Regions from separate parts of the Homo sapiens genome. Here regions 1, 2, 3, 4, 5 and 6 are each linked to region 7. The links are contacts of gene promoters, found by promoter capture Hi-C in blood cells and fetal thymus (Javierre and others, 2016). All regions are on one chromosome and are shown on one strand. The core of a region is centred on a gene start or on the middle of the fragment in contact, and the rest is flanking DNA. Distances in the headings are between cores, read along the strand shown. Region 1 overlaps DCTN1 (dynactin subunit 1). Region 2 holds the start of SLC4A5 (solute carrier family 4 member 5). Region 3 overlaps SLC4A5 (solute carrier family 4 member 5). Region 4 overlaps SLC4A5 (solute carrier family 4 member 5). Region 5 holds the start of DCTN1-AS1 (DCTN1 antisense RNA 1). Region 6 overlaps SLC4A5 (solute carrier family 4 member 5). Region 7 holds the start of ACTG2 (actin gamma 2, smooth muscle).

Evidence for each region. The method cuts DNA at HindIII sites, captures the fragments that hold promoters and counts their contacts. A CHiCAGO score of 5 or more calls a contact.
Region 1: a fragment that was not itself captured here is called in contact with the fragment with the promoter of ACTG2 in region 7 in 4 of 17 cell types (activated CD4 T cells, total B cells, naive B cells and 1 more); the score reaches 7.1 in activated CD4 T cells.
Region 2: a fragment that was not itself captured here is called in contact with the fragment with the promoter of ACTG2 in region 7 in 9 of 17 cell types (total B cells, naive B cells, M2 macrophages and 6 more); the score reaches 10.0 in total B cells.
Region 3: a fragment that was not itself captured here is called in contact with the fragment with the promoter of ACTG2 in region 7 in 1 of 17 cell types (total B cells); the score reaches 5.2 in total B cells.
Region 4: a contact is called between a fragment that was not itself captured here and the fragment with the promoter of ACTG2 in region 7, in 3 of 17 cell types (naive B cells, activated CD4 T cells and total B cells). The highest score is 7.2, in naive B cells.
Region 5: a contact is called between a fragment that was not itself captured here and the fragment with the promoter of ACTG2 in region 7, in 1 of 17 cell types (activated CD4 T cells). The highest score is 6.9, in activated CD4 T cells.
Region 6: a fragment that was not itself captured here is called in contact with the fragment with the promoter of ACTG2 in region 7 in 1 of 17 cell types (activated CD4 T cells); the score reaches 6.2 in activated CD4 T cells.

The regions. Positions count from the first base shown.
Region 1 is chr2:74,360,675-74,364,352 of GRCh38, reverse strand. It overlaps DCTN1 (dynactin subunit 1), which reads left to right. Exons shown (of 32, transcript NM_004082.5): 27 at 725-739; 28 at 926-1,059; 29 at 1,176-1,359; 30 at 1,624-1,703; 31 at 2,212-2,301; 32 at 2,717-3,198. The coding sequence ends at 2,854. Among named protein-coding and RNA genes, the nearest start is that of DCTN1, 18 kb to the left of the region's middle. The HindIII fragment of the contact is 2,943 bases long and covers 336-3,278 here.
Region 2 is chr2:74,343,281-74,346,923 of GRCh38, reverse strand. SLC4A5 (solute carrier family 4 member 5) reads left to right here and starts at 3,508. Exons shown (of 31, transcript NM_133478.3): 1 at 3,508-3,568. The HindIII fragment of the contact is 204 bases long and covers 1,833-2,036 here.
Region 3 is chr2:74,304,883-74,308,240 of GRCh38, reverse strand. The region is part of intron 6 of SLC4A5 (solute carrier family 4 member 5); the gene reads left to right. It also overlaps the pseudogene KRT18P26. Among named protein-coding and RNA genes, the nearest start is that of SLC4A5, 37 kb to the left of the region's middle. The HindIII fragment of the contact is 227 bases long and covers 1,629-1,855 here.
Region 4 is chr2:74,325,083-74,328,860 of GRCh38, reverse strand. SLC4A5 (solute carrier family 4 member 5) reads left to right here. Exons shown (of 31, transcript NM_133478.3): 5 at 675-741. Among named protein-coding and RNA genes, the nearest start is that of SLC4A5, 16 kb to the left of the region's middle. The HindIII fragment of the contact is 3,097 bases long and covers 842-3,778 here.
Region 5 is chr2:74,384,349-74,387,601 of GRCh38, reverse strand. DCTN1-AS1 (DCTN1 antisense RNA 1) reads right to left here and starts at 2,099. Exons shown (of 3, transcript NR_158174.1): 1 at 1,852-2,099. It also overlaps a transcript of DCTN1 not described here. The HindIII fragment of the contact is 1,624 bases long and covers 1,009-2,632 here.
Region 6 is chr2:74,272,685-74,276,467 of GRCh38, reverse strand. The region is part of intron 8 of SLC4A5 (solute carrier family 4 member 5); the gene reads left to right. Among named protein-coding and RNA genes, the nearest start is that of SLC4A5, 69 kb to the left of the region's middle. The HindIII fragment of the contact is 2,176 bases long and covers 754-2,929 here.
Region 7 is chr2:73,891,151-73,894,774 of GRCh38, reverse strand. ACTG2 (actin gamma 2, smooth muscle) reads right to left here and starts at 1,767. Exons shown (of 9, transcript NM_001615.4): 1 at 1,724-1,767. RefSeq lists an enhancer at 1,878-2,691. The HindIII fragment of the contact is 3,877 bases long and covers 46-3,624 here.

The DNA.
Region 1 (3,678 bases), core at 558-3,057, 470 kb before region 7:
TTTCCCAGCTGCTCCTGAGTCTTGTCAGCTGACCTCACCTACATAGAGTCTTTGACAAAGTCTCTGTTACTGACACCCCTTGATCTTGGGAGGTGACCAAGTACCTTCTTGACTTTAGGCTCTTGTGGTACAGACAGCTCTGTGTTCTTTGGAGAGAGTTTCCAGGATTACTACTTTGTGTTGTTTTTAGCACTCTTGAAACAAACATTAGCACTCTTTAAACAAACATAGTTCTGAATTTATGAAACTTCCCACCAAAAAAGAAGGTCTTTTGCCTCAGAGCAATGGGGAATCCTTAGGAGCAAGGGAGTGTGTTTGCATCCCCAACTTAAGCTTTGCTGCTGGTGAGCACTAAGGGTGCAGACATATTGGGGTCTCTGGAGCATTCTCCGTGCCCTTCTTGGAGATGGCATCTGAGACAGGGAGGCAGGAACAGCCTCATGTTCCAAGTACTTTGTACAGTGCACACTCTCTTTGCCACTGTTCTTCACACATTGTACCCTGTCTTGTGGCCTCACTCCTGTTTGGTGTCTTTCTTTAACACTTATCTGCTCGTCCCCAAAGATAGGTGGCAGAGAGTCTTGTTAGAGAAAGTATGATGATTAGGAAAAGGGTTTTCCTGCAGGTTGTGTCCAGGATTCCTCTGGTGTGTCCCCGTAACCCCCAAATCACCTAACTCCTCTCTCCTCTTTTCCTGCTCCCCCATGGGCTATCCCGAGCACAGAAGAACAGCAGCGAGGTAGAGACCCACTCTGGCCGGGGGTTACCAGGCTGGTGGGAGTTGGAGCTAAGGGAGCAGGGTGGAGGGGGAAGCCAGGACTGGAGATGGGTGATGGGGGGATGAGGAAAGGGGAAGAGTAGGAATGGAGCCCAATTTTCAACCCTTTCCACTTGGGGCTGATGAGATTTTTTATGGTCCCCACAGGAGCCATCCCTGGGCAGGCTCCAGGGTCTGTGCCAGGCCCAGGGCTGGTGAAGGACTCACCACTGCTGCTTCAGCAGATCTCTGCCATGAGGCTGCACATCTCCCAGCTCCAGCATGAGAACAGCATCCTCAAGGTGAGGGAGCCACGGGGAGGACTGGGATGGGAGATGGAGCATATTTGCCCCATTGATGATAGATGACAGGGGCCTCCTAGCACCTCTTACCACTATCCTTCTTTTTTCATCCACAGGGAGCCCAGATGAAGGCATCCTTGGCATCCCTGCCCCCTCTGCATGTTGCAAAGCTATCCCATGAGGGCCCTGGCAGTGAGTTACCAGCTGGAGCGCTGTATCGTAAGACCAGCCAGCTGCTGGAGACATTGAATCAATTGAGCACACACACGCACGTAGTAGACATCACTCGCACCAGCCCTGGTATGTACCTGCCAACCCCCAAGATGAATAAAACTGCCCCCTCCACTTGGCCCAGGGATTTAGCCCCTGCTCAGGTGGTTCCCCCACCACAGAAGCTCTTCCCAGCAGTGTTCTTTGGCTTCACTGTTCAGTTTGTTTGATTCACCCACTCTCTCTCAAGTACTTGTTCTGTTAGAGAGTCTTATACCTGCACCCCTAACCCTTAATCCAGTAGAACTGCCTGCCTGCGCCTTGGTGGGCCTCACCAGCTTTCTCTCCCCACAGCTGCCAAGAGCCCGTCGGCCCAACTTATGGAGCAAGTGGCTCAGCTTAAGTCCCTGAGTGACACCGTCGAGAAGCTCAAGGTCAGCTCAGTTTGCCAGGCAGAGCTCACTTCACAGCATAAACTGGTGGAGCCAGGCACTTGTGGAGTTCCTCTGAGCCCAGCCCTGTGCTAGACAGCAATTGGGGAGGAGATGGAAGGGAAGGCAGGGTTCTTGCCTTGGAAGCTCACTGTCTCAGTGCAAACAGAAGACAGATTCTCATAACAAAATGGATAAGCTAGGGTAATCTTTAGAGTGACTGGTTCAGGCTTTAGCTTCCATCAGCGCTGAGATCATTGTGGGGTAGAACGGTTGGGCATGGCTTCCCAAGAGCGGTAGAATGTGAGTTGGGCCTTACAGGATGAGGACTTGCAAAGTAAGGAGGAGTGCTGGTGTGGGGATGGGGTTGGAGATGAGAGCAAAAGTATGTTGATATAGAGGACTAAGTCCCTGCCCCCCTGGTATTAGTGTCTCTGTGAAACCACGTGGTCTTGTGCTAGCCTGTGGGGGTCCCATAAATGAACCCTTGTCTTCCTCTCCCCTTCCCTAGGATGAGGTCCTCAAGGAGACAGTATCTCAGCGCCCTGGAGCCACAGTACCCACTGACTTTGCCACCTTCCCTTCATCAGCCTTCCTCAGGGTGAGGGGGAGCATGGGGTGGAGGATGGGACAGTGTGGAGAGCTCAGGCGGGCCCCCCTCTCCTCCAGAATTGGAGGAGGCCTTTGGAGTCTCAGGTCTAACAACTGCATACCTTGGGTTATCTGGCCAAATTTTACTTACAAGTAACTCAGAAGTGCTTACAGTGCTTTGAAATTCCAATATTTTAGCACCTAAACACCTTCCGTGACTTTTGACACCAGGAGGGCCTCAAAACTCCCTTGTCAGATTATGTATCCCCATTCTTATTTGAAAAATGTGGTCACAATAGCCCAGGATCTCAGAAGCCCTAGTCACCCAGGAGCTGCCTTGGTCTCAGTGCTCAGGGACCCCTTCAGTGGCCCACAGCTCAAGTGAGCCCCTGACCTGGAGTCTTTTTCTCCTCATCAACCACCAGGCCAAGGAGGAGCAGCAGGATGACACAGTCTACATGGGCAAAGTGACCTTCTCATGTGCGGCTGGTTTTGGACAGCGACACCGGCTGGTGCTGACCCAGGAGCAGCTGCACCAGCTTCACAGTCGCCTCATCTCCTAAGCACTCCTTTCCCCTGCTGTCCCCTTCGACCCTCAGCCCTCTGGTGCCGCTCTGCCCGATGCACAGCCACCTCAGCCAGCCCCCAGGTAGAAACGTGGGTTAAGCTCTTCCTGCCCCGTTCAGCTTCACTCCCACCCTTTCAGCGTCCTGCCCCTTCACCTTGACCCGGGTTCCCCCACTCCCATTCCCTGGCCTCTGCCATAATTTGTTGTTCAACTGCTCCCTCCTTCCTGAGGGGCCTCAGGGCTTGTGGGGGGTAGGCTGAGACCCCACCACCAAAGGTTAAGTGAGGTCCCCTTGATTGAGGACTTCACCCCTTGATTAAAGCAACTTCTGCTTCAGTGCTTCCTGTGTGGTGTTGAGAGTGGGACTTGGGCCATTAAGCTCACAGCAGGAGTGGAGGAGAAGCGATGCTGAGGAAGCTTTGGCTGTATCAAATTTGAGGTCTCCTCTTCGTAGTGACCAGAAGAATGCTGTTTCTAAAATTCATGTGCAGTAAGTTACTCTAACCAAGGAGGAAAGGGCTAGACTTAGGACTAGGTACCTAAGTTCATTTATGGAGTCAGGAGGGCTGGGAGGGTGTAGCCTCTGCCAACCCTGCCTCTGCTTCCTGTAGCTTCCACTGCTCTTTAGTCCAATTTTTGGAGCTGGAGTAATGATATGATCACCACCCCAGCCAATTTTCTGATGTACTGGCCAGTCTTCCCATAAGACCTGGGGTCTCTCAGAGGGAATATTTACTAAATAAGGGAAAACTAAAGTGGCATACTAGTAAAGGATAGGAGGTACAAAAGCTACTCCCAAACCCCACCATAAATTAGTAT
Region 2 (3,643 bases), core at 685-3,184, 450 kb before region 7:
ACAGATTTTCTATATAAAGAAAATTTATTTTGTATATAAAGTTGGGGATGGCTAAAACTTTTCTAAGATTGACAACAAAACTAGAAACCTTAAAGAATAATATGGATAAATTTGACTTTATTAAAATACACACACACACACATCGTATTAAACCTTCCTGTAAGAAAAAGAAAAAGACTGCAAACAAAATTGAATGACAAATGACAAACAGAAAAATATCTATAATTGGGAGGCCGAGGCGGGAGGATTTCTTGAGCCTAGGAGTTTGAGGTTTTAGTGAGCTGTGATCGCGCCACTGCGTTCCAGCCTGGGTGACAGAGCAAGACCCTTTCTCTAAAAACAAAGAAAAAGAAAAATATTTATAACATAAATAAGTAACTTTTACAAATAAATAGGAAAAAGAAGCTGGGAGTGGTGGCTCATGCCTGTAATTCCAGCACTTTGGGAGGCTGAGGCAGGTGGATCACTTGAGGCCAGAAGTTTGAGACCAGCCTGGCCAACATGGCGAAACCCCATCTCTATTAAAAATACAAAAATTAGCCTGACATGGTGGCGCATGCCTGTAATCCCAGCTACCTGGGAGGCTGAGGCATGAGAATCACTTGAACCTGAGAGGCAGAGGTTACAGTGAGCTGAGATGGTGGCCAGTGCACTCCAGCCTGGGTGATAGAGTGAGACTCCATCTCAAAAATAAATAAATAAATAAATAAATAGAAAAAAGAAACACATCAATAGAAACATAGATATGAATAGGAAATTCACAAAAAATACACTTACCAAGTTAAATCAACCTTAAGTAAAAAATTCGTTCAAGATTGTAAAGTGAACTGTTAACATTTACTTCTCTTTCCTCCCTAAGTCCAACTGGAACTACATTTTTTAAATGAAAAAAAGTAAAGTATGCAACCTCATGAGAGAACTTGAAAAAAAAAAAGTAAAAAGGAAAAATATCCAAAGCAAAAAAAAAAAAAAAAAAAAAGCATTCCAAAGCAGTGCTGGAATACGAGGAGGGGTTTACAGTATACTTCTTTGGACCTGACGCCTAGCACTTTTCCCTTCTGAGAGAAAATCTGCCATCCCCACTTTAGTCGCCTGGTTCATGTGGGAAACTGAGGCTTAGAGACAGCAGAGCTGGGGAGTGGCAGCAGGATATTGTGGCAGGTGGTGGCAGTCGGGGACTTCAGGCTGTGGTCTCACACCGCCACACTGCCTTTCCCTTTTCTCACAGAGAACATTCAAATGGCTGTCTTTCTCTGGCAAGGTAGAAAGCCTCTCAAATAAGTAAGGAACATGCTTTGGTTAACAGCTAACGAGGCATTAGGTCTGGACAGGGAGACAAGCAGTGCAGCAGCCAAATCCCAGTGGACACTAGACACGAGGAAGAAAGCACGGTGCTGCCAGGGCAGGTCCTCCTCCCTCCTTCCTCCTTCCTCCATTAGGAGGATTCCTGAGCCTGCAAACCTGTTCCCTTTGTGCATCCTGGAGGGACAGCCCCTGCCCCATACCTTCCAATACCCTCACCAAACCAGATGAAGCTCACCCTCAAATTCCTGTGTGAAGTGAGAGACAAAAAAACCCCAAACCTGAAGTGTCTGAAATAAATGTCCAAATTATTTGAACAAAACCTGGGTAGGTAGAAACCAAAGGGTTTCACTTGAATGCTTGGCAGTAACGTCTCAACTGGTCTTTCCACCTGTGCTACAATCCACTGTGAAGTCCATTATTCCATTCTTGTACCAAGTCCCCTTCCACATTCCTTTCACTTCAGACATGTTTGCTGATGTTTACACCTCTCCATAGACTACCCAGCCTATCGTCGCATGCCCAAAGCTTTATTTCCCCAAACCTGCCCTGTGCCAGGGAAACTGCTCTCCAGTTCTCAGGATATTTATGCTATGTTCTCCCACCTCTTATGTCTATATTTTTTGTGGCTTCTTCCCTCTGCCTCAGATACCCCTTGGTAGTTCTACTGTTCTAAATCCTACCCCTATCCTATCCCTTCACTGCATCTCCAAGGCCATTTTCTCCACAAAGCTTTTCTTTAACACATGGGGCTGGTAGGTAAGCCATGAACATTTGTGGAACAAGGTAATCCTCCAAACAAGGGTGATTTTTCTTTCACTGAACCCTTCCCTCCCTTTGTGCTTCTTTTTGGAGCCTCACACTCTTCTGAATTTGTTGAATCCCCAACCAGCTGGAAATTCCCTAAGGCCCGAAACTGTTTCTGGCCTAGGCTGTGCTGATCTTCCTGGGACTAAGGGGTTTCCTGGGTCACAGATCTTCTGTGCTAAAACCAGGAAAGCCTCTGGTGACCCAGCATGTGTTGATCTCCCTAGTCTTGCCTGTCTTTGATTCCATGGATTATTAACAGAAACTATAATGTTGGGTTAATGTGTTGGCTTGGGCATGGCCTCCGAAACATGTTTTTTACATGTCTGCCACCAGCAGGCTCTAGATCCAGGAATGAGGCTTTTCCACTAAGGGAAAACTCCACGTGATCTAGGAAGAAAGTGAGGATATCCAACCAGATGATAAATTTCCTATCTGAAAGAGAAGGTCAACCCTGAAATAAGGAGGCTGAAGACCCTTAGAGAAGCCACAGAAGAGACTGGAAGAAGAGGGGTAGAGTTGCTTTTTTAATGGGGCTTCCAGCTCCTACTTTTCTTCCTGTCTGTAAGTCTCTGAGCTTCTGTTCCAGCTCTGTAAGGTTGGGGACGAGAATGCTCTCCCCACTGGACTGTTGAGAGTTCAATGAGGGGAAATGTGTGCATATACCAGGCCCCATGCTGGGTGCCCAGAGACGCTGCGCCTTCCTGGCATGCTTCTCTTCCCCATCGCTCAGCACCGCGTCCCTCACTCCCTCCACTCCCGATTCTCACTTCCTACTCACTGGCTTCTTCCTTCCCATCTTCCTCCAAACTTCCCATTTTCCACTATGTCTCTCTCACCGTATCTTTTTCACTTAAACAAAAATGGAATTCATAAAAACAGAGGCCAAAAGTCAGGATAAACCTGGAAAAATCACCAAGTACGCAAAGTTTTTCTTGCAAGGTTTGGTTTTTTCAAATGCCTTCTTTGTTTTCCTTGCCCATATCCTTCTTCGGAGAGTCAGGATTTGGGGTTTGCAGAGCTGTGTGGCAGTGGAATGTGGAATGTTCTCCTGAATCTCAGTCCCATGAAGAAAAGAGGCAAAAGTCCTGACATCTTTCCTGAGGATTGTCTGATTTAAAAGAGCTGATTCTCCCCAGGCAAATGACTTACCTTTGTTGTGCTGGGACAAGCTGAACAGGCAAGGAATAAACCTCCCTAGAACACACTGATTAGATTAGCCAGTGAGAACCACTGAAGACGCAGACATTAGATTAAAAAACAGAAAAATGAATGTTACTTTTACAGTGGCTATGAATAGACAAAGACTTTTTGGTTTGAAAATAGTTGGTGAGGCAATAGAGGAGGGGCTATGTTAATAGCAGAGATAGAAAAAACGAGAGGTGGATGGTTCCAACTGCAAGGTCCACCCTAAAGGAATTGGAGTCAGGGCCCAGGAGCCACAGGCCACTGCACTGGGGTAAGTAGAGTGGATTTTACATAAATAAAGTTACAGAGTGGTTGTAGGTTCTGGTTTGGAGATGTGAGTGAACCA
Region 3 (3,358 bases), core at 493-2,992, 410 kb before region 7:
GTATGTACCCAACTGAGTTGAAAATTATGTTCACATAGAAGCCTACATATGAATGTTTAGAGCTGCACTATTCATTATCACCAAAACTGGAGGCCACCAAGATGTCCTTCAATAGGAGAATGGATGAACAAACTACAGTACATTGATCGGTGGAATATTGTTCAGAGATAGAAAGAAATGAGGTCATCAGCAAAGCCTGAGTCCTTTCCTCTCACTCTCCTCCCCGGACAGCATGAGCTTCACCACTCGTTCCACCTTCTCCTCCAACTACTGGTCCCTGGGCTCTGTCCAGCCACCCAGCTACGGCGCCTGGCTGGTCAGCAGTGTGGCCAGTGTCTATGCAGGTGCCGGGGGCTCTGGTTCCTGGATCTCTGTGTCCTGCTCCACCAGCTTCCAGGGTGGCATGGGGTCTGGGGGCCTGGCATGGGGATGGCTGGGGGTCTGGCCAGAATGAGAGGCATCCAGAACGAGAAAGAGATCATGCAAAGCCTGAACGACCTCCTGGCCTCCTACCTGGACAGTGAGGAGCCTGGAGACTGATAACAGGAAGCTGGAGAGCAAAATCCGGGAGCACCTGGAGAAGAAGGGACCCCAGGTCAGAGACTGGAGCCATTACTTCAAGACCATTGAGGACATGAGCGCTCAGATCTTCGCAAATACTGTGGACAATGCCCACATTGTGCAGATCGACAGTGCCCATCTTGCTGCCAATGACTTTAGAGTCAACTATGAGACAGAGCTGGCCATGCGCTAGTCTGTAGAGAGCGACATCCGTGGGCTCCACAAGGTCATTGATGACACCAGTGTCACTCGGCTGTAGCTGGAGACAGAGATCGAGGCTCTCGAGGAGCTGCTCTTCATGAAGAAGAACCACGAAGAGGAAGTAAAAGACCTACAAGCCCAGATTACCAGCTCTGGGTTGACCATGGAGGTACATGTCCCCAAATCTTAGGACGTTGATAAGATCATGGCAGACATCTGGGCCCAATATGATTAGCTGCCTCAGAAGAGCCGAGAGGAGCCAGACAAGTACTGCTCTCAGCAGATGGAGGAGAGCACCACAGTGGTCACCATGCAGTCTGCCAAGGTTGGAGCTGCTGAGATGATGCTCATGAAACTGAGACGTACAGTCCAGTCCTTGGAGATTGACCTGGACTCCATGAGAAATCTGAAGGTCAGCTTGGGAAACAGCCTGAGGGAGGTGGAGGCCCACTACACCCTGCAGATGGAGCAGCTCAATGGGATCCTGCTGCACCTGGAATCAGAGCTGGCACAGACCCAGGCAGAGGGACAGTGCCAGGCCCAGGAGTACAAGGCCCTGCTGAACATCAAGCTCAAGCTGGAGGCTGAGATCACCACCTACCACTGCCTGCTGGAAGATGGCAAGGACTTCAATCTTGGTGATGCCCTGGACAGCAGCAACTCCATGCAAATCATCCAAAAGAACACTACCCACTGGATAGTGGATGGCAAAGTGGTGTCTGAGAATAATGACACCAAAGTTCTGAGACATTAAGCCAGCAGAAGCAGGGTACCCTTTGGGGAGCAGGAGGCCAATAAAAAGTTCAGAGGTTAAAAAAAAAAAAAAGAAATGAACTATCAAACCTTGAAAACACATGGAGGAAGCTTAAATGTATATTGCTAGTTGAAAGAGCCAATATGAAAAGGCTTCATAATATATGATTCCTGTAAGAGTGAAAGAAAGGAAAGAAACACGAAAAGTGGCTCGGCAGTCAAAGACAGTTTTACTTTGGAGAATAAACCTGAGAGGGGTTTCTGGCCGATTTGGGTCAGAAGCGCTCTCTCTTACAGACTAAGACTATTTATTTTAGGGTAAGAGAACTTACCACAAGCTTGGAATGTTTCTGTTTGGGGAAGAAGTTTTGGTGGTGTTGGAATGTCTCTGGTCAGAGAGGCAGTTATCCTGGGGCTAACATCTCTCTGGCCAGAGGGGAGGTTATCTCAGGGCTGGCATGTCTCTGGTCAGGGAGGGGTTTTGAATGTTTCTAGTTGGAGATGTTATTTGTGGCTTATGGTCATGCTCACCTTAGCCATTAGGCTGATGCCCTTTGGATTTAGGTGGTTTTTGATCAAGGTGAACTTTAGAATGGCAGTGCTTGTCCAACAAGATGGCAATGCTCCTGCTCTGTCAATTCCAACTCTGTGATATTTTGGAAAAGGCAAAATTGTAGAGATAGTAAGTAAAAAGGGGGTTGGAGCCAGGCACGGTGGCTCACGCCTATAATACCGGCACTTTGGGAGGCCAAGGCGGGTGGATCACAAGGTCAGGAGTTCGAGACCAGCCTGGCTAACATGGCGAAACCCTGTTTCTACTAAAGATACAAAAAATTAGCCAGGCATGGTGGTGCGTGCCTGTAATCCCAGCTACTTGGGAGGCTGAGGCAGGAGAATTGCTTGAACCTGGGAAGGGGAGGTTGCAGTGAGCCAAGATTGTGCCACTGCATTCCAGCCTGGGCGACAGGGCAAGACTCCGTCTCAAAAAAAAAAAAAAAAAAAAAGGAAAGAAAAGGGAGTTGGAGGGAGGAAGGGGTGGGATGAAGAGGTGAAATACAGGATATTTAGAGTAGTGAAGCTATTCTATATGATATATAATTGTAGATGTATGTCCTTATGCATTTGTCAAAACCCATAGAAGTATCTATACAATAGAAGAGTAAACTTTAATGTAAACTATATAGTTAATAATAATGTGTCAGTATTGGCTCATTAATTATAACAAATGCACCACACTAATGTAAGATGTTAATAATAGGGAAAGCTGTAGGGGCAGAGGTAGGATTAGGGTCGAGGTAGGTATATTGAACTCTGTGTGCTGTCTGCTCAATAATTCTGTAAATCTTAAACTGTCCTAAAAATCTATTAATTATTTTAAAAATTGTTGACTTAAGACAACACTGATGTTAAACTGATAGCAATGTCCTATCTGAGAGGTGAGGGAATTCCAGCTACCTCTGTGTGCTTTGCCCATTACCCTGGGTTTCAATAGTAATCAGGCTTATTAGTGGGATTCTGAATTAGGGCTCTTGGTAACTTTAGTTCTTAGAAATTTTAGTTTACAAAGCCAGCTTTGTGAAACCCTCAATAACTCACTTTTCTGATAAGTAGTCTATGTAGTCCTTGATTGTTAGTAAAAATGGCTCTCAGTAGAAATGCATATGACTTTCTCATAACAATCAAAGAGGGCACTTGGCATTTTGAACTACATCTGTGACCCACTGAGGGACTTTCCCCTTAACCACGTGTCATAAGCCATATCCAGTAATCACTGTTCCGGACAAGCAAGAACGGGGGAATGGGAGTTCTGCTCATTCTAACAGAATTCTAATTATAGCACTGA
Region 4 (3,778 bases), core at 1,141-3,640, 430 kb before region 7:
TTGACCACAAGTACAGACTGCCACTATTTCCAAGCCATGCCCTAATCTGACAGCTGAACATTTAGGTACTTGCAATGTGATAAGATCCTTTATCAACATCTCAGCAGTCCTCAAAGCTCTAACAACTTAAAAGTTGGAGACATTAAAGTGAGCTGTAATTTTGAGCCAACTGGGGTCATGCCAGTACATAACAACAGGCCCACGTATCTGTAGGTTCCTGGAAATGCCACTGCCCCTCTCTGGGCCTCAATTTTTCATTATATAAAGTGGGCAACCTTGAGATAAGGCTGGATTCTTCAAGTTCTCTTCCAGCTCTAACATCCCTCCAAGACAGAATCCAAAAAGAATCTGGGTTAAAAACTATGCAGGGAGATAAAATAGCATTTCAGAATCAAGGCTGGAATATACCACTGCCATAAAAAGATCACCAAGTTAAAATTCAAGAAGAAATTTAGAGCAAAGGCATCTGCCTATGATCATGGCCAGCTCTATTCAGACCCTGCTATACCCTGGTCTGTCAGTCAACCAGGCATCCATCCCTGACCCTGCAGGAGCGTCCCTCCCCCCACCTTGGTCACATGGCTGGCCGCCACTGAGCCTCAGAAGTCAATCTCCAATGCCCCAAATACTGTTCAGCCTGGAAACCACAGAGAGCCCTTCTTGCCACCCAACAGGAACAGAGCAAGTGGTTCTGGCCTCCCTGGGATTTGGATCCTGGTTTCCAGAGCTAAGAACACAAAGGTAAGTTTGCAGCTGGAAGCTTCAGAGAAAGTAGACAGAGCTATGCAGATAAGGGAAAATGTGTTTCATAGCATGAACACAGAGTATTTAAGAGTAAGCTTCACACACACTGAAGAGGAGAATACCAGGAAAGCTGGGCAAATCTTCCAAATGAGTATAGGATATTTGGTTTTCCTTTAAAAATTATACTGTTTTTATCACCCTGGCCTTGAGGTTTTTGGGTGCAAAACCACTCCAAATTAACAGAAATGACAGGAAACTTGTTCTGTCTGACACCATGGTAAGTTAGTTCTATCTTGTTCTCATCTAATAGAACTGAATCTTTCTCTTCTAGTACGTAAATTTCTGTTGTCTTTGTCAAATGTGTTAGACTGGCTGAAATACTTATGAAGTAGCAAAAACCCTGAGACTTACCTCTTTCCCAGAAAACCATGGGAAAATAAATTATATCTGCTAATGTAGCATCTCAGGATAGAAACAGAATAATGGCTAGTCTCCTTTCATTACACATTTTTGTTTTTAGGTTTTGGATACGGTACCTGGTTTTGCTACTGCTAGTTTTCTTAGGGATATTTGTTTGTTTTGTCCTTTCTCTCCTGGAGCATGCGTGGGTGTTTCAGTCTGCAGGGCCCCGAGGCAATGGACAAGCTAGGGGTTGAGAGGGTAGCCTTTCCCTGGCTTCTAGCTTAGCTTTCTAAAGCCCAGCATGACCCCGTGTCATTCTTGTCGATTCAGTTCACAAAATAATCCCAGATAAGCCCTTGGGGAAGTCCTTTTCTGAAATACTCTGGGCTGTCAGAAGGGTGCATCAGACACCATGTTGGCTGGTCTAGAGTTCTTAGATATCAAGGTCAAGTGGCTTAAAATATGGGGTGGAAAGAAAAGCTCCCCAAAAGCTGACCAGTGAATGTGGCACAACCTTTTTACTAGTTACCTTTTTTCCCAGAGACATGGATGTCTAATCTTAAGGATTCATTACTATGCTTTACTCTTCTTCCCTAGTAATGAAACTATTTTGTTCTGTTCCCAGTGTCTAGTGCAAATATCTGGAACAAAGTGGATACTCAATAAGGATTTGTTGGATTGAATTGATGTGTCCTTGTGGATAGGGAAGGGGTGGGCACCTAAACACCAGATGATTCTATCACAAGGGCTCTGATGACTAAAACGTGTCATACATCTTTAAAGCTAGCTGTGTCACCACCACCTTGCTGCTTTGGGCATGCAGTCTGCTTGGGCAAGGACCCCTGTGTGTCTGTTTGCTAGGATAGCACTCTGATCCTTGGTCTTACAGGCTTAAGGTGTTTTGTTTGTTTGTTTGTTTTTGTTTTTGAGTGCAGTGGTGCCATCTCAGCTCACTGCAACCTCTGCCTCCTGGATTCAAGCAATTGCTGTGCCTCAGCCTCCCGAGTAGCTAGGATTACAGGCGTGCACCACCACACTCGGCTAATTTTTGTATTTTTAGTAGAGACAGGGTTTCACCATGTTGGCCATGCTGGAATCGAACTCCTGACCTCGTGATCTGCCCGCCTCGTCCTCCCAAAGTGCTGGGATTACAGGCGTGAGCCACTGCACGTGGCCCAGGTGTTGATTTTGTCAGTAGGGTTTTGGATTCTCAGGGATCCCAGATGTGATTTCAGGCTAGTGGTAGGGGCAATGAAATGGAAAGTGACTTTTGACTCAGGACAGAAGAGAATTTTGTGTGTTCCCTTACTGTAAAGCCATGCTCAACACCAAGGCGATCTATGATCTAAAGATGGATGGGGGAATAACAGTGAGCTAGTTGGGCAGGGAAGAGACTGGTGTTACAGGTCCTTTCATTTGCTGCATGCCAGAGGCTGATGTGTTGCTAGCACAATTCCTTTGGCAAGATATTGTAGTGGATGATTGTACTGGTTAGTACTCTTTGGATACAAGTAACTCAAATCAGCTGAAGCTAGTTGAAGAGAAAAGAGGGTTTTTAAAATTTTTTTATTTTTTTAAACATCAAATGCCTTTTTACCAAGGAGGGACTTATTATAATACCAGGGAAGTCTTGTGGACCGGAGTTCAGCCAGGCCTCAGGAAGGGCCTGGAACCCAGAAGTGGAAGACTGTCAGTAACCCATACCAGGCCCCCTCTGTTTCTCACATCTTTATTTCTCTTTCGTCTTTCTCCCTCCTTCCTTCTCCCTTCCTTCTCCCTTCCTCCTCCCCTCCTTTCCTTTCCTTTCCTTTCCCCTTCCCTTCCCCTTCCCCTTCCCCTTTCCCCCTCCCCTCCCCTCCCTTCCCTTCCTTCTTCCTTCTTTCCTTAGGTTTGAGAATCAAAAAGAATCCAGTTTGAACCCTGGCTCCACCATGGCTGGTTCTGTGATCCAGGACAAATCACTTAACTCTTAGTCTTCATTTACTCATCTATAAAATGTGGGTGAAAATTATATACCTCACTGAATTATAGTGAGGATTCAATAAGATGATGAAAGCAAAATACCTGACATTCAACTAATACACATTATATGAAATGCTGGAGGTAGAAATTCTGTTGCATGAATTAGGCTGGGACTTTTATGGTGGGCAGTATAGTTGCCAGTCAGAGCAGAGCTAATCCAAACACTTCCCCAGGGCCAACACTCAGCTTCAGATGGATGGACTCCTTTGAAGATCATCTCAGGGAGTTTGGGTTCTTCTACTTCTGCATATTCCTGGGAGGGAGCTTCTCTCAAGTTGTGAGAAGTTGGGATCTAGCACAGAGGACATGAAGCAGGAATGGTCTTAGCTAGTCCAGAACTGGAAGGTATGCATCTACCTGAATATTATAGCTACATTATAGCTCCATACTTCTATAGTTTGTAGAGTTCTCATCTGTGTTTGCATATGTATTGTCATTTGTCAGTGACAAGCAGGCATTTCATTATTTTTCCAACAAACTTTCTTTTCCAATCTGAGAATCCATAGTACTTCAAATAGGAAATAACACATTTTAAAATCATGTTGGAAAGCTCTATTTCATTTTCATTAGTCAGGCACTTGTGATTGCAAACATGAGAAGCCCAACTCAA
Region 5 (3,253 bases), core at 571-3,070, 490 kb before region 7:
GAGAGGGAGTTGTTGCGGATGACTCAGTTTTCTATTTTGAGTGGATGGTGGTGCCAATAGCAAAGAGAGAATATAGAAGAAGAACTTTTTTTTGTTTGTTTGTTTTTGGTGGGGGAGATACCAAGTGTGTTTTGGGTCATATTGAACTTGAGGGCTCTGTGGCAGTTAGCAGACAGTGAGATATGAGTCTGAAGTTCAGAAGAGTTTCTGTCTAGGGGCAGTAAGTATGAGTGGTAGTTGAAGTTGTGGGAATGGTTGAGGTCTCCCAGCCACGCTTACAGAAGGCTGAAAATAATGACAGAGGAGATGAGAAGGATTGACGTGCAAGGGTAGGAGAGAATGTTGCCCAGGAAGCTAGGAAAGGAGAAAATTCCAGGAAAAGGATTGACAATCTCAGTTGCTACAGGGAGATCAAGTTAGGATGAGCTTGGGAAATGCACCTTGAGGTTGTGTAGGACATTGGGGTCACCAGGGCTCTTTTAAAGTGTGAGCAGCTTCAGTGGAGTGGTAGGGATGGAGCCAGATAGCAATGGATCGAGAAGTAGATGGGAAGTGAAGATAGAGAATGTGTACTCACTTTGAGTAGTTCAGCAGAGAAAGGAAGAATACAGAATGGTGGCAGCTTGTGGAAGAGGTAGCAGGGACTTGTTTTTCCTAGAATGGAAGTCTTGTTTATGGGTTTTCTGATGCCATGTAAGATCCAGTAGACAGGGTGCAATGAAGACACAAGAGAAAAGACGATTGCTAAATCAAGTCCTCAGAGGAGAGGGGAAGGGGTGGGCCCTGAAAAGAAGGGGATACCATTTTCTTTAAAGAGGAATGTTGGAAGAAAGGAAGGAATTTAGGAAGAAAGAGATAATGACATATGCATGCAGATATATCTAAATTTTCAAAGAAATTCTTACCTAATAGGGCCAGTTTTCTTTTTCAGCAAGGTTATCTGCTGAGAGGTGGGAATGCTGGTGTTGGCTTGGGTGGGAGTAAGGACTTGAAAATGTAAAGGAAGCTTGAAATAACTGTTAAGAGGAAAGAGGAAGACAGTGGAACTGAAATAAGCTCCAAGAGTGTTGAGTACCCTCTGAACTGAAATCCTACACTATAAGCCTCCCCTTCATCTTTCTCATAATAATAATGGCTGACATTTATTGAGTGCTTTATACAAGGCACTGTTCTAAGTGCTTTTCAGGCATTCTCATGTGATTTTTACAACAATCCTGTTAGAAAGTTATTGTTATTATCCCTTTCTTCCAGAAGAGGAAATTGAGGCATAGAGGATTAGTAGCGCTTGTATTTGATGAATCTCTTACGTCTGCAGAAATGGATTCCTTTTCCTGAGGCATCAGAGAAGACAGAAATTTAATCCCAACTCCCGGTTTCTGAACCTTGAGAGCCTAGAGTCTAGGGTTGCTAAGGAGGGAATCTTACCATGCCAGTTTGTGGGCATGATGGTGGCATGGAGGGGGCAGGACAGTGGGATCACTGTTGCTGTCAGCTTTTGACAACTACATAGGGAAACTCGGATATTCTTGAGTGATTTTTCCAGCATCCTGACTAGAAAGACAAGTGACCGATAGTGATTTGTCAGGTATTGTGGGCTGAGATTGTGTCATCTGAGAGGTGAATAAGAAGAGAGACCTTGTCCCTGTTCCTATCACCTAGAAAAGGAGAATTTTTTCTTGGCAGAGAGACAGGCAGATCTAAAACCTTATATAATAACATAATGATTATTAACTCACCTTATGTGTTTTCTCAGTTTGTGTGACAGATACAATTTGTAGGTAAGCTGTATACCTGACTTGAGTGAAAGGAGAGAGTGATGGGATGGCGTGGATGGAAGAGAAACGGACTTACCTTTTCCTGCTGCAGCCACTGAAGCATCATCTCTGTGTCCTTCCTTTTGAGGTTGCCATGGATACGCCTTTGCATGGTGGTTTGAGGAGATTGATTTCCATTATGATCAGATGATGACGTGGGTTTAAAAAGAGAAAGGATGGAATGCTCTGCTTTTGGGGAGTGGCCGGCGAGCTGCCCAAAAGGCAGAGCCCAGTACAGCCGATAGGGCTGTGGCTTTGTTGGCTGCTTTGGCTTTTGCTGAAGTTGTGAAATGGTGCATCTCTCTCTTTAGAGCGCAGGCTCAGGGTTCCCTGTCTACAGGGTCCTAGTGCCAGGAACTTGCTGGTTGATTCAGGGGGAGGAATCAGCAGGAACTTCGAACAGCCTAAGTAGGACTTCTGATACCACTGAGAGGATTGAGGTTCTTGAGTGCAGGGCTGAGTGCCTCTTGCCTTCTTGCAGAAGTTCCTATATTGAAGATAAGTGAAGCATATAGCATAGCTTTTCTTCTTGACTTTTAGAGGTCTGGGCCCTTGGAGGTGGGCCTGGAAGTCACTGGATATTTCTGGGGAAAGGGGACATTTTGAGATGGAGTAGAGCTGCATTCAGAGTGGGAGTGGGTTTGTAGACGTTTTTTTAGGGTAATGAGGAGCTGGAGAAGGGAAGGAAGTCCGTTGAGTGTGTAGGCCTTATCTATGAAATCCGCAAGGCAGATACTGAGTAGGACCTAGGAACAAAAAGCTCTGTGTACGTTGTCTTCTGGGGTCCTGTGAATATCTGGAATCCAGCTTTCCAAGCTTCCAGTCTCCCAGCCTCCATTTACCACTCAGTAAGCAGACCTTTTCCTTTCTGACTCCTGAAGGACTTAGGTCCACGTTTATCTCTTCCTTACTAGTGCTTTCAGAGATGTATAGTTTTGCCTTGCTGTCAGACTGCCTGGGTTTCAGACAAGCTCCTCTAGGAGTGGGAAAGCAGGGAAAGCAGACAGTTGGGTTAGCCCAGGATCAAGGTTTGATAAGGTGAGACAAGAGGAGATCAAGGTATCAAAGGATGCTGGGGTGCCAGTAAAAACAAGGTAGAAATGGTTCAGACAGGGGAGAAATGGTAGAGGTGGAAAAGAGGCTTTTCCTCCTCACTTTCTCCTTTTTCATTCTCCAAAATCTTATTTTCCTATAATTTCCTGAAATTTCTCTAAGACTATTGGCAGACACAGAGATTATTATTTATCAGACACAGAGATTTTTCCCCTCCTCTCTTCTCATTTTTCTAGATATTTTAGTGGTATTTAATATCATTGGAGAGGAAAATGGATTAGAAATCCAAGAGGTGTCTGTCTCCTCCCTGGCTGGGGTAACATTAACCCAGGATTGTCCTATGGGATATGGGCCTGGGCCCGGTAATGCTGTGGAAGGAGCACCTA
Region 6 (3,783 bases), core at 592-3,091, 380 kb before region 7:
CAATCCCTAGAGCAGCGGAAAGGTGGAAGCTCTAACTTCTGAGTCTAGGAGAGCTTTGGAGAGGTTGTTTTATCCACACCTTTCTTCTTTCATTCCAAAAATAGTTGAGGGGATGTTGTGTTAGGTCCTGTGGGAGAATTAAAATGAGTAAAATATGAATCTGTTCTTAAAGAGCTTATGATCTAGTACAGGTATCAGCAAACATGTTCAGTTAATGGCCAGACAGAAAATATTTTAGGCTTTTTGTGCACAGATGATCTCTTCCCCTGTCCTTTTATTTCCCCTCCTCTCCCCGCTCCTCTTCTCTTTTTCTCTCCTTCTCCTCTCCTTTCTCTCTTCTGCCTACTCTTTCTCCTTCTTTACAATGCTTTAAATATATAAAAACCATGCTTAGCTAGCTGGCCATACAAAAACAGGCTGTGGGGTGCTTGGAGCCCATGAGACATGATATTTCAACCCCAATCTGGTATAAAGCAGGCATGTGCTCATACACACAGCTAACTAAAACCCAGGGTGGTATGTGCAAAGTGGTGAGAACAGGCTCTAGAATCTAAAGACATGCCTTCAAACCCTGTCTCTTATGAGCTGCATGACCTTGGGCAGGCTCCTCATCCTCTAAGGGTCTCAGTCTCCTCACCTGTACAATGAAATAGTCACAGACCTACCTCATGAGACAGATTTAAGGATTAAATGAGATAATACCTGTTAAGTGCTTAGCATAGTGCCTGGCACATAGAAAGCCCTCAGTAAGCTTTAGCTGTTGTCGTGATTAGGAAGTGTTATGTGATAAATGATAAAAAGTGTGATGCGAGTTAGAGGAAAGAGAGGTCTCCTCAACCTTGGCCCTTGGGAAGGCATTGTCTTCCCAACTGGGAAGGAGAGGTGACTTTTGAACTTGGCCCAGAATAGCAGAGGTGGAAGAGAGTGCCTAGGTGAGGAGAGGGCCTCTCCTGAGAGGCAGTGAAGGGAGGTACCAGCAGACTCTGAGGGAGGCAGACCACTGCGTAGATGACAGTCCCATGGGGCAATTACAGGGACTTCCTGGATACACAGACAAGTGGCCCTCAGAGAGGTTTTGGTTCCAGAAGCCTCTCCTTGAAGGAGCCCATTCAGAATTTTTCAGTAACTTTGTCTGATGACATTCACTTAGCTGTGGGCTCTCCTTCAACCCTGAATGAGGACATGGTGTGCAGGAGGATGGACCCTTCACCAAATGCATGAGCTTGGGAGCAGAGGCCACCCCCATTCCATTCACCACAGCTCCCTCGAATGCCACACCTCTGCCCCATCACCACCAGCTGTGCCACTGCAGTTCATCACTGTCTGGGAAGGAGTGTTTCTCCTGTAATGCCCAAACTGTACTGCATCACCAAAGGCCCTCAGCGGAGGTTCCTAGGCCACCAAAAGGAAAGACTTTCATTCAAAGGGAATCAGTCAGCCATGGGAGGAAGTGGGGTTCATTGCAGAACAATCTAAGACAGAAGGCCCTATCAATCTGATCCTAGTCCTAGACATATCTCATGAGTAGAGATGAAAGATCATCCTAAGTCTATTAAACACTGGAATCACTTAACTAATGATTAACTCATTCTGATTCTATATTCAGCAACTTTTTGGTGATAATTTGGCTTACCCTGTATATCTGCCCATGAGGAGAGAATGCAAAGGCTAGAGGATGAACATAACAAACCCCTATAACGATTGTAAATCTCACTGTAAATTAAATAAATTGGCCTTCAGGTTTATGCATCAGCCTTTGTGATCTTGGTTAGCATTAGACAGTGTCACTGGACCTAATCATCTTTGGGACACTAAAAAGATAAAATTTCTGAGCCTGGACCGGGGTGGGTGCCCCAAGAGGCCTGTGAGGCCTTTCTGGTGCTCATCAGCCCCTTCTGGTAGCTTCTGAACTTCTCCATATGTGTGCTGACCCTTGACCCATGCCTGCCCCCTCAGTCTTTTATACTTTATAATCTTTCAAATTTACTGCCAAGTTTGGTTTATTAACATATACATGGTATGCAAAGTCATAATCCGTTGTAGAAACAACTTGTTGTACTATCTCACATACATATTTTCATGCATGTGATTTTATGTAGCATGAATTAGCCAAATAAATTGTAAGAATGGGCCAGAATTTGCTTAGGTGTTTCTCCCGTTTTTTTGAGACAGAGTCTTGCTCTGTTGCCCAGGCTAGAGTGCAGTGGCACCATCTCAGCTCACTGTAACTTCCGCCTGCTGGGCTCAAGTGATTCTCCTGCCTCAGCCACCTTGGGCAGGCTCCTCATCCTCTAAGGGTCTCAGTCTCCTCACCTGTACAATGAGAATAGTCACAGACCTACCTCGTGAGATAGATTTAAGGATTAGATGAGATAATACATGTTAAGTGCTTAGCATAGTGCTTGGCTGGGAGTAGCTGGGATTACAGGCATGCACAACCACGCCTGGCTAATCTTTGTATTTTTAGTACAGACAGGGTTTTGCCATGTTGGCCAGGCTGGTCTCAAAACTCCTGACCTCAAGGGATCTGCCTGCCTTGGCCTCCCAAAGTGCTGGGATTATAGGCGTGAGCCACCAGGCCCGGCCTCAGGTGTTCCCCTTTTGAAAAATCTTCCTTCCACAGATCATTTTTTAGTGCCTCTGTCAAAGACTGAACCAGGGGAGTATCTGATGATTCCTCAGACATCTCTAGGAAAATTCTTAACGGGCTTCTAAGTGAATTAATACTGGTCTTCAGTATCTGTTGGGAAATTCAGTATCCTGATATGACTCATATGAAGTTAAAAAACTTTGCTGGATATTGAAGGAAAACTTACATTTCTTACTTTTAAGAAATGAATTTGTTGGAGTTACAAAATGTATTACAGGCCTTAGGCAGAAAGCACAAACATGTCTTGATGCTTTGTAACTAATACACAGAAGTCAAGCTTTTGGGTAATGGGGCGGGGTGGGAGAGTTACAGAATAAAGTTGGTGAGGCCACATAGATAGAGTGACCACAGGGATATATACTTTACAAATTTTAGCTGAGTAAACTTCATGAAAGAAACAAATTCACACAAATGTAATTCTTAAAACAAATGTTTGGAGGCAACATAGCCTTAGCATTAAAGGTTACATACATTGGGAGATTACATTTTTTAAATTAGAATGTCCTAGGGGGGATTTTGCAAACAAACTAACCAAGACACTATTTAATTATAATGATATTCAAAATAGTATAGATAGAAGCTTCTCTTCAATCACAATGTTTATGTATATTCTCCAGATTTTACTCTTATCTAACTACACATAATGGGCAGCCTGTTGTTTTATCATCTCAAGGATCTGTGTCTTCCTTTTAAAAAATATTGATGTCTGATTGTCAGTCCCCTGAGATTCTGATGTAATTAGTCTGAGATTCAGCCTGGGTTTTAGAATTTGTAAAAAGCTCCCAGATGATCCTAATGCAGCCATTGAAAACTGCTGATACTTACTCTAGCCCAGCAGGATCAGTGGGAGTTACGAAGTTTCCATCTGAGGAGACAACTAGAATAGAGGTCTCTTGGTTTTCAGCCCTTTCCAGATCCTCCTTGAAGGAGAACCTCCTCTTCTCCCATCCTGTGGTTTGAGCATTGGAAGCCTTGACTGTACCTGGTAGCTAGCGCCATGATGCTTTCTCCTGCTCTTGTTATTAATTGAACAGCAATGTCCTCTAATTATATCTCTGACCGAGTTACTAGGCACAGAAAAGGCCTCAGTTCTGGCCCTGCTTTGTGTGACAGAGAGCTGCTTTCTGTGACAA
Region 7 (3,624 bases), core at 518-3,017:
GAGTCCCAAAGACCATGCTTCCTCTTTACCAGGAAGGACCAAGCTTGGTCCTTACTTCAGGACCAAGCTCAGGCACCTCTTCCTCCAGGAAGTCTTCCCTGATAACTCCTGGGTTGAGTGATGGGCTCCTCCTGGCCTTTACCCCTTTCGTGTACTTATTTGCTCCATGGTTCTCATCTGTTTATCTGTCTCTTCCAGTAACTGCAGAAGCCTCTCCACTGTCCCTAAGGAGCAGAGACAGTGCCTGGCCCATAATAAGTGCTCAATAAATGTTGGCAGAATGAACAAGGGGAAAGAGGAAAGATATCTCGCCCCAAGGTCATGATGTCACACGGCCCATCCCCTTTTCTCAGGCCTGGCATGTAGGATCTTACTGTTCATTGCAGTTTCTCCAGCACCCATCCCTCTCTGTCACAGGAAGCTCTTCCTCTTTTCAGCCCAAGGGTTAGTATCAGAGTCCAAACCCACATTCAAGTAATCAAAGTGAGCACTTAGAGCCTCCCTGTACAAAGTGTGGTCCCAGACCAGCAGCTTCAGTGTCGCCTGGGAGCTTGTTAGGAATTCCAAGTATCAGGCCATATCTCGGCCTACTGGAATCAGAATCTGGGGTGGGGCATGGGGCAATCTGTGTTTTAACAAGCACTCCAGGTGATTCTTAAAGTTTGAGAACTCAGGGCCGGGCCCTGACAGCCTTGAGCTGAGTGCTGTATATACGCATTCTCTCGTTTAATCCTCACACCATCGCCAAGTAGATATTATTATTCTTGCCCCCATTTTACAGGTGAGGAAGCTGAGGTCGCTCAGTAACTTGGTTAGCCTGACAGTCTGCCTTCAAGGCCTGCACTGCCACACCCAGCCTGCCTCACCTGTGAAGAGATGCTAGTGAATTCTGATGCCAAACATAGAAGTGGCCCCTTCATCTCATCTTCCTCTTAATTCTTTGTGCATGTGTTGTGTGTGTGTTGGGTGGGTTGGGGGGAGTAATGACATCTGCAAATGGGTCACAGTTGGGTGTGAGTCTTTTGGATGAGTGGCTGTACGTCTCTAGGCCTCAATGTCCTCATCAGAGGAGAATGAACTAGATGGGTCCCAAGTTCCTTCTACCCTGAAACCTCACGATGCCACAGGGCAAGTGGAATTTTCTCCATCCCCCAATGATCCTAGAGCCTTCAAGGACTGCAGAAACCCTCCATTCTCCTCAGCCAAGCACAGATCAGAGGACAGAGAGACCCACAGGGGACCTGAAGAAAATACCCTCCCATTCCCAGCACAGACATTTCATGGACTAAACAGCTCACAGACACCAGGACCACTGTTGGCTTTGACTCAAGTATTCTGAAAAGCTGCTTTTCTGCAAAGTATATGATCCCCTAAAACAGCCTCCCAGACATTCTAACCCAAGACAAAGGACATCAGGGTGTGGATCTGCACTGGCCCTGGGGAGCAGGGCTAGTAGAGACTGCAGGCATTATATCCCGCCAGTCCCCATTCTGAGGCAGGGAGCACGGTTCCAAGCTGCCCCTGCCCCAGGATGTCCCATGGCCAGATACGCCTTTTCTCAGCAGGCTGCAGTATGCTTGCAGGTGCCGCTGCCCACCAAGGGCTCTGGTGTGTGATCTGGGCCAGCGTCACAGAAGCCAGGCCAATCTGGAGGCACCTCCCGCACCCAGGAGGCCAGGCAGCCCCGGAAAGGAAGAGGTGGCAAAAGCCGTACAGTACTTACCGAGGGTATGAGAGGTTCTTCTCCCAGTGACTGAGGGCTGGTGTGTCTTTGGCATGAATACCAGAGCAATATAAAACCCCAGAGGCGGATCTTCTTTAAACAAAGTCCCTAAAAAGGCCAGCTGACGGTGTGTTAGCAATATTACCATATAAGGTGGTTTTTTCAATAAATCGCCTTGGGGGTAGGGAAGGGGGGTGGGTAGAGTGAGTTATCATTTGAAAAATGTATGCAAAAGGACTCAGTGGCAACAGCCCCGGTGCTGGTAGATTTGTTCCTTTTATGCTGCACTTGCATAAACAAAACTCACACCAGGCCTTATAAGCTGCCCAGAGTGAGACCAGATGCAGCTGTGCTCCTGGAGTGAGAACCATACCAAGAATGGCAGCGGGCCTCCTCCGTCCACACCTCCCTCCTCAGGCCCTGCTGCATGCGGCCCCTGGGTCTGCCTGGGACGCCCAGGCACTGTCCCCAAAATGGGTGCAATCATGCCTTGTCTGGCACGAGCCTGGGACCAATGAAAGCTGAAGAGAAATGCCTTCCGTACCCAGGAAAGAAATCCTGCGTGCCCTACTCACCTGCTGCACCTTGACACAAGCTCCTAACCCTTGGGCTGAGTTCTCTGAGGGTCTCAGGACACCTTAGGCTTCATTCTCTCTTGGCTCCTTCCTGGTTTTCCTTTAAATATCTCTAAATATCTGCAGACTGAGGGACCTGCTTCAGGGTTGAGGCACACCTAACAAGACTCTTGGCCTGTAGGATTTTCCACAGTCCTGTGATTCTTGAGCTGCTTCTTTTTCTTTTTTGAGATAGAGTCTCGCCCTATCCCCCAGGCTGGAGTGCATTGGTGCAATCTCGGCTCACTGCAACCTCCGCCTCCCAGGTTCAAACAATTCTCCTGCCTTAGCCTCCTGAGTAGCTGAGATTACAGGCACCTGCCACCATGCCCAGCTAATTTTTGTATTTTTAGTAGAGACAGGGTTTCACCATGTTGGCCAGGCTGGTCTCGAGCTCCTGACCTCGTGATCCACCTGCCTTGGCCTACAGGTGTGAGCCACTACGCCTGGACTTCTTTTTGTTTGTTTGTTTTGTTTTTAATTAGACAGGGTCTCGATCTTGAACTCCTGGATTCAAGCAATCCCTCCACCTTGGTCTCCCAAAGTGCTGGGATTACAGGTGTGAGCCACCATGGCTGGCTGATGATTGCTCTTCTTTGTGTAATTCATGTACTATCCCTAGGTAGCTGGTTCATTTCCCACATTATCAGCTACCAGCTCTGCAGTATTACTTTCAACTCCACATTCTCATGGTCCCCCTCCCTCACCCTGATCCAGACTAAAATGATCAATTGCCTATTGGACATCCCAATCCAGATGACTCTCCAGCTCTTCAAACTCATCCTGTCTAAAACTGAACCCTTCTTCCCTACCCTCAAAGCTGCTGTGCCTCCTGGGTTGCCAACTTCCAAGTCCACCCCTCGGCCCTTCAAGCTAGAAGTCAGTCAGTCTAGAACCCTGTGTCTCCCTCATGCTCCCACAACCACCTGGGCACCACAGCCTGGTGCTCCCCCGACCAGAAATGCCCCTCAGCTCTGTGTCCTCCCTCAATCCCTGCTGGCCTGCGCTGCCTCAGGCTCCAGTCCTATCTGGCCTGGAGTGGGGCGCAGCTTCCTGACTGGCCTTCCTGACTCTGCTTCGTCTTCAACACAGAGGTTCCCAAAGCATGGGGACCACCAGAGTGCAGCAGCAGCATGATATGGGAATGTGCTCACAATGCAGATTCTCAGGTGTCACCTAGCCCTATTGAAACAGAAACTCAGTGAATAGGCCTCAGCCATCTGTGTTTCTTAAACTTTCCCCACCCGGTGCCCAGGATACCCCCGCTTCAATAGAAGAAGCATGCAT